Regions from separate parts of the Homo sapiens genome. Here region 1 is linked to region 2. Evidence: promoter capture Hi-C in 16 types of primary human blood cells and fetal thymus (Javierre and others, 2016). All regions are on one chromosome and are shown on one strand. Each heading gives the region's core, a stretch centred on a gene start or on the middle of the fragment in contact. The rest is flanking DNA. Distances are from core to core; before and after follow the strand shown.

What was found. Contacts are between HindIII fragments. The CHiCAGO score rates a contact against its expected background, and 5 or more counts as called.
Region 1: a fragment that was not itself captured here is called in contact with the fragment with the promoter of RET in region 2 in 1 of 17 cell types (M1 macrophages); the score reaches 6.0 in M1 macrophages.

What each region holds. Positions count from the first base shown.
Region 1 is chr10:42,783,901-42,787,242 of GRCh38, forward strand. BMS1 (BMS1 ribosome biogenesis factor) reads left to right here. Exons shown (of 23, transcript NM_014753.4): 2 at 462-670; 3 at 1,582-1,772; 4 at 3,268-3,342. The coding sequence starts at 495. Among named protein-coding and RNA genes, the nearest start is that of BMS1, 2.8 kb to the left of the region's middle. The HindIII fragment of the contact is 1,222 bases long and covers 820-2,041 here.
Region 2 is chr10:43,074,866-43,078,492 of GRCh38, forward strand. RET (ret proto-oncogene) reads left to right here and starts at 2,204. Exons shown (of 20, transcript NM_020975.6): 1 at 2,204-2,466. The coding sequence starts at 2,394. RefSeq lists enhancers at 1,261-1,527, 1,393-2,250, 2,559-3,549 and promoters at 1,743-2,426, 2,128-2,426. The HindIII fragment of the contact is 20,268 bases long and covers 1-3,627 here.

The DNA of each region.
Region 1 (3,342 bases), core at 181-2,680, 290 kb before region 2:
ACCACTTCATCAGTCCAGTTGATACCTGGGTCTGAGCTGTCCAGTATGGTAGCCACATGTGACTATTTGGAGTTAGAATGAAATTAATTAAAAACTCATTTTTTCAGTTTCCCTAAGTATATTGTAAGTAACCACATGTGGCTAATGGCTAAATGGCTGAAAAGTACAGATATAGTATATTTCTATCCTTGCAGAAATAGATACTGCTGATGTTGACACTTAAGATGAATAAAAAGTAACTTAACCATAAAATGTAATCTTAAGAGAGGTAACTCATCTAATTTATAGCATAACAGAGAGAAATGAAATTGGGGATGGTTAAGCAGTTTCTACCCTTGTTCAGTGAACAAATACATCATCTCTTCATAAAGAAATAAATGAAATTTACTGTTTTTCCCTGGGTATTGCCTGGATTGTAAAATGCTTCTCCCATCTCCTTACCCCAACCTTCTTCCTTGTAGGTTAGAGTTACTTGTTATTGGTAAATAGCCACTATGGAGGCTAAGGACCAGAAGAAACACAGAAAGAAAAACAGTGGACCCAAAGCTGCAAAGAAAAAGAAGCGGCTTCTGCAGGATCTCCAGCTAGGAGACGAAGAAGATGCCCGGAAGAGAAATCCCAAAGCTTTTGCAGTTCAGTCTGCTGTGCGGATGGCTCGATCCTTTCACAGGTATGTTAGGCTACGGTCTGGTCATTCTTCCATTGATTCTTTTTTTAAATAGTAGGAGCCTCTCACAGGTGACATTTGGATTCACGAGTCTAGTCCAGCTCCAAAGGACATGGAGATTCATGGTGTGTGGCTTTCACTAAAACGTGAGAAGCTTTTCCCATAGAAGCTGCCTTGCCTCCAGCATCTGCATACTGGTTAGTGTTTATTGCCCAGGATACAAGAATTTATAGACTTTGTTTGTTCCTAAATTTTAAACTGTTTCTATGGTGATAAGTGTGCTTTTTCCCCCCAGGTATGTTTTACATAGTTGTAATATAAAATACAAAAATTACAATATTTAATACTAACATAGCTTTATTTAGTGAGCCCTTGTGATATGCCTAGCAGTGTACTTTAAACATTATTCAACTAAATCCTTCCAGCAGCCTTACCAGAGTAGGAATCATTCTTGCCCTCATTTTATGGGTAAGAAAACTGAGATCAAGAAAACAAGTTACCTCCAATCATATAACCAGTAAGTAGGAGAGCTAAATGTAACTCCAGCGCCTCTGCTCTTATCTGCTATGATGTACTGCCTCGCTATTTACCTTTTGGTTTTTTAAAAAACTATTAAAATCACTCTTAAAACAGTCAGATTTAAGGAGTGTTTAATTTTCGCTCTCTATAGTATTGAAGTCATCTTGTTACATCTTTATTGAACAGCAATTATTTGGATGGGGCCAGAAGTTAGCAAGTTAATAATTGACAAGTTAATTATATTTATATATTGTCTGTTGTACTCTCTATAAAATGTGCTAAAGTACTCATAGCTATAAGTGTACCAAAAAAGTCTACTTATAAGGTTGATACCTTTTACTCTATTTTGAAAATGAGTTTACTATTTATTTATTTGTTTATTTTTTAATGAATAGGACTCAGGATTTGAAGACAAAAAAGCATCATATTCCAGTGGTTGATCGAACTCCACTAGAGCCCCCACCAATAGTGGTAGTGGTGATGGGACCTCCAAAAGTTGGAAAGAGCACTTTGATACAATGCCTCATTCGGAACTTTACCCGGCAGAAGTTGACTGAGATCAGAGGCCCTGTGACGATTGTGTCAGGTAGGAGATGCCACCACAGACACAGAGTTGGCGTGGCTGTTGTCATCTGAGGGACATGCATGCGTTTGTTGTTTTCTTGAGTGGAACATGTTAAATATTGTCATATCATGGGACTTCTCTTATACTTAGTATTACTAAGTTGGCTATAGCTTCAGAAAAGGGTAAGTTCCCAGAGATAAGGATGTGATAATGTTCACATTTCCTCCCAGCACTCTGGGAGGTTCCAAGGCAGGAAGATACTCGAACCCAGCACTCGGGCTGGAAAATCAAGCTTTGCTGCTCGATTGCGACACCAGCCACAGTCCTCTTCCTCCGTGTAGAAGGATGTGTGGTCCAGCCTCTTAAGGTGATGCTTTCCTTTTCTTCCTGGTTTCCTCCTCCATTTTTTGTATGAGAAATGATAATGTTCACTATGTCTTATCCTGACTGCTCTTTGGCTTTGCCAAACATGTTCCTTGGAAGGGCCTAGCAGGCCTAGTCACCGTGAACACATCATTTAACAGATAGCACGCACCTCCTATGTGCCAGGTGCATATGCTTGCCTTATGAAGCCACATTCTGGTGGAAGTGCGAGTTTTCTCTTTTTCCTGTGAGAATTGTCTGCTTTGGGAGATGGTGACCTTTCCGAGTTTGAGGGAAAATGAAACAAACTTCCAGTGGTAGAATGGCAATGTACACTCTGAAATCTCTTGTTATTGCAATAATATAGTTGGATTGAGGCTTTTCTTTATCTTTGGAGCATCCATATTTTCTTTTCCCTTTTTTGAGACAGAGTCTTACTCTGTGGTACAGGCTGGAGTGCAGTGGTGTGATTACGGCTCACTGCAGCCTCTACCTCCCAGGTTCAAGCATTCCTCCTACCTTAGCCTCCTGAGTAGTGTATGCCACCACGCCTGGCTAATTTTTCTTTTTTTTCCTTTTTTTTTTTTTTCTGTAGAGATGGGGTTTCCCCATATGGCCCAGGCTGGTCTCAAAACTCCTGGGCTCAAGGGATCCGCCTGCCTTGGCCTCCCAAGTTGCTGGGACTACAGGCGAGAGCTACTGTGCCCAGCCCATATTTTCTTGACTGTTTTATTTTTACCTTAATTTAGAAGTAATTATTGTTATGAATATTCTGTTGCATTATGTTTGAGGATGTTTGTAGCTCTAGTGGGAATACGGGAAGTTTTGATAGAGGCAAAGACATTGGGCCTGCAGCTGAACAGCAGGATCATGGTTATCATGGAGTCTGTGCAGTCAGAATTTTCCCTTTTTGAGCACTTTTATTCATCTGGGTAGACTTTTGATGTTATTTAAATTTAGAACACAGCAAGAAAAACAGAATGGAATTTATTTTATTTTATCAGTTTTTGCCTGTAAAAATGAACTTCTTGTATGCTCCTGTAAATGTATATGATGTTTTACTGGATGCAGTTAAAAAATGAAAATTAAGAGTTGATGGTTAGAGTTTTTTCAGGGTCTTTTTAAAGTAAAATTTTCATCTTTTCACTTATAGGTAAAAAGCGCAGACTCACCATTATTGAATGTGGGTGTGACATTAACATGATGATTGATCTGGCTAAAGTAGCAG
Region 2 (3,627 bases), core at 954-3,453:
CTCCCCACCCCATGGACTGAGAGAAGCCAGGGCCAGGACTCCTGGGCAGCCAAAGACCGGCACGTCTGCTTTGCACTTCACCTGGCCCCCACCTCCCCTTGTGAGACCTCAGGGGGTGGCCTCGCTTCCCCTCTGCTGGGCAAGGAGCTCCTTCCTGCTGCCTGATGTTCTGGATACTGAGCCTACACCCAGGCAGGGCTGAATCTCCTTTCCCCGCAGTCCCTGAGGCCAGCAGGCTCTGGGCCTCACAACTGTCCTCTGCTGAGCGACCCTTTGGTCAGATCCCTGGGCGTGCACGTAGCAGGGAGGTATGCATCTGTGTGCGTGTGTGTCCACGTATGGGAACACAGGTGTATGCATGTATGCATGTGTACAGGGTACACCCATGTGAGGGCCCCCCAGACCTTTTTCCAAGGAGTAAATGACACCCTCTCATAGTGTCAGGTGTTCACTCAGGACCCCCAAGGGTGAGGGTGGAGCGAGAGCGTGGAAAGGCCTAAGGTAGGCTAGGCAGGAGCACAGCCCCAGATGGCCCCTTAAGATGGCCACACAGAGCCCAGCCAGACATCAATGTCAGCCAAGGGCTGGCCAGGGTGGTCCCCGGGAGGTGCAGGGGTGGGGCTATTTAAGCCTACCCACTTCTCTCTTCATTCACCTAGGAGGCAATCACAGGAGCTTGTCTGTAGCCAAAAGATGCCCCCAGCCCCTCCCTACCTATCAGGTCCCTTCCCTGGGCACAGGCCTGAGTGTGTAGCCTAGGTAGCCACTGGCACCAGAGATGGAACCTGTCTGAACCCAAGGGAGCCCCTTGTGGCCAACTCTAGCTCCATAAACTGGAAGGGTGTGGCAGGCAGCCGGAGTCCAGTGGCCCACAGTGTCTCTCCTGGGCTGGCAGGCCTGTGCCCCGGCCACCTGCCCCTCAGCAAGCCAGGTCTGGACATCACGGTTGGCTGAGTGCAAGCCAGCCTCTGTCTTGGCAGCTCCCCCTCCTGCCTGTGAGGGTGACTTCACTTTGACTTCATATCTGCAGTGATGTGCAGATCACTTATTCAGCCCTGAGCTCAGCCAGGCAAGAGGGCGGGGTTCTGCACACAGCAAGCAAGGGAGCGGCTGGCTCAAGGGTGCCCTGGGCCCAGGTTCCCTGGCTTTTCCTCCTCAAGGGCCCATGGGCTTCCCTTCTTCCATCCCTCTGCGCCTAAGTGCAGGCCAGACCTCAAAAAGCAGCCGGGGATGGGGCGAGAACAGAGGACTTCCCCACTGAGCCCACATCCAACCTCACCCAGAACCCCTTCTCAGGTCCAGTTGCTGCTCCCTATTAGGGGTAAATGTGTTTATGCGCATCATTTCCATCATTTCTTTGGGGGAAAATTGGATTCTTTCCTCCTCCTCGCTACTCGCTCTCCGACTCTGCCAGCCCATCTCCTGAGAGTTCTCCTGTGTAAGGGATGCAAGGGCCACCAGCACCAGGTCTCTGAAAGGACGCCGGAGCCAGTTTCCGGTTTCCAAGGGTTGGACCAGTGCTGGAGGGGGGAATCACAAACTGCCCTTCCAGGACCCTACCCTCTCTACTACCCCAGGATGCTGAAAAAGGCTATTCTGCCTCTCTTCCCCTGCTCAGCTCTTCCCCGCCTCCTGCCTCCGGCCCCAGCAGAGGCCGCGCTCCCACTGCGCCTCTCGCCTCTGAGAAATGGCGCAGCAAGCGCTCCGCGGAGAGCCTGGAGGCGGGGCGCCCTTCTCTGAGTCCGCGGGGTCGCACCCCGAGCCAGTCGGCCAGACCTGCATCCCGCGTAGCATCCCTGCCCTCTCTGTGCAGCGGAAAGGGCAAAAGGCAGGGACTGCAAGCGGGCGCGCACCGGGTAGGAAGAGCGGCTCTGCGTAGGTGCGCGGACCCGGGCTCCTGGGTTCCATCCCCGCCGCGCACCTCGGGGTCCGCACCCGGCTCCTGCCGGGCCCTTTTCGGCCGCACCCCGCTCCCGCACCCCGCTCCTCCCCAAGCCCCACCCGGCCCAAGCCGCGCGTCCCGCACTGAGCTCCTACACGCGCCGCGCCCCGGCCGCACCCCGCGCAGCCAGAGCAAGCACTGGAGCCCCGCCCCTTCCCGCACCCCACCCGCCTCCGGCCCCGCCTGGCCCACCCCTGGACCGCCCCCGCCCCGCCCCGCCCCTACCCGCTCCTCCGGCGCAGCCGGCGCTTACCTCGCTTCAGTCCCGCGACCGAAGCAGGGCGCGCAGCAGCGCTGAGTGCCCCGGAACGTGCGTCGCGCCCCCAGTGTCCGTCGCGTCCGCCGCGCCCCGGGCGGGGATGGGGCGGCCAGACTGAGCGCCGCACCCGCCATCCAGACCCGCCGGCCCTAGCCGCAGTCCCTCCAGCCGTGGCCCCAGCGCGCACGGGCGATGGCGAAGGCGACGTCCGGTGCCGCGGGGCTGCGTCTGCTGTTGCTGCTGCTGCTGCCGCTGCTAGGCAAAGGTGAGTTCTGCCGGCCGCCGGCTCCCGCAGGGGCCAGGGCGAAGTTGGCGCCGAGCAGCGGAGCGGGCGCGTTCAGAAGCGCCTTTCTGTTTGCCGTGGGCAGCGGGCTGTGCGGTCGCCGGCCACCCGGCCTCGGCTGGGAGCGCAGTGGCTGCGGCGGGCGGCGGGCGAAGGGCAGGACGCCTCGGGCCGGGCGCCTCGGGCCGGGGCTGGGCGGGTCTCGGGCGGGAGCGGAGCGCGGGCCGGGCCGCGGGGGTCGGTGCTCAGAACCCTAGCCATAGCCGCAGGTCTCAATCTGGCCGCGCCCTGCGCCAAAGCCGCGTCCTGGAGCAAACGGGACAGCCGTTTCGGGGCCGACCTGGCGGACGGGTCAGGGAGCCCCGAAAGCCCGCGATTCGTGCGGAGAGTTCTGTTTCGGCAGGAGACGGCTCCGTCCTGGTTTCCTTTTCCCGCTCAGCGTCCGTGCGTTCCTCCCCCAGCTCTGCCGTCCTGGCCAGCCGAGGGATTCGGAGGCTCTTTTGAAAAGATTGCTTTTCCCTCGTGCGTTTTTGCCGCCCTGTCTTTAAACACCTAAAAACCGTGGTTTCTGGGGTGGCTCCCCCCGAGGGGCCGCCGTGATAGGCGTCCCACCCGGCAGCCCTGGAGTCGTGTGGCGCTGCCTGGCAGAGATGCTGAAGATGCGGCCATAGGAGGCCCAGGGCTTGGGGTGGGGCAGGGGTTTGCGCCGCCAGCCAGCGTTGGTGCTGGGCCTGGTGAAACCTCAGGTGCCTTAGGATCCCAGCATTAGGTGTGGCCTTGCAAAGATGGTCATCGACCCCACCCAAACTCTGGCAGAGTGAGCCGCAAGGCTGTGGAATCTTTGACCCCTTGGCACGCGTTTAAGTGTCCCTCAAACTGGCCCTGACTTGATCCCCTCCAAGCGCTTGTGTATGAACCAAGTTTCCCTCTAAGAGGGAAGGAGCCCTGGCCATCCTCCCTCACTCCTTACAAAGGGCTTTCTCTCCCCACAGCCTTTGGGAACAGAAGAAGCCATGGTCAGTCACCCTGTCTCTGGCCCCAGGCCCTGCACAAACTGAGTTTCCAGGCCTGCCTGAGACTTCATTTGTGTGACCTGCGCCTCAGCTCAGCATATGCTGAGGCCAGAGCGGGTCCCCAGTCCAC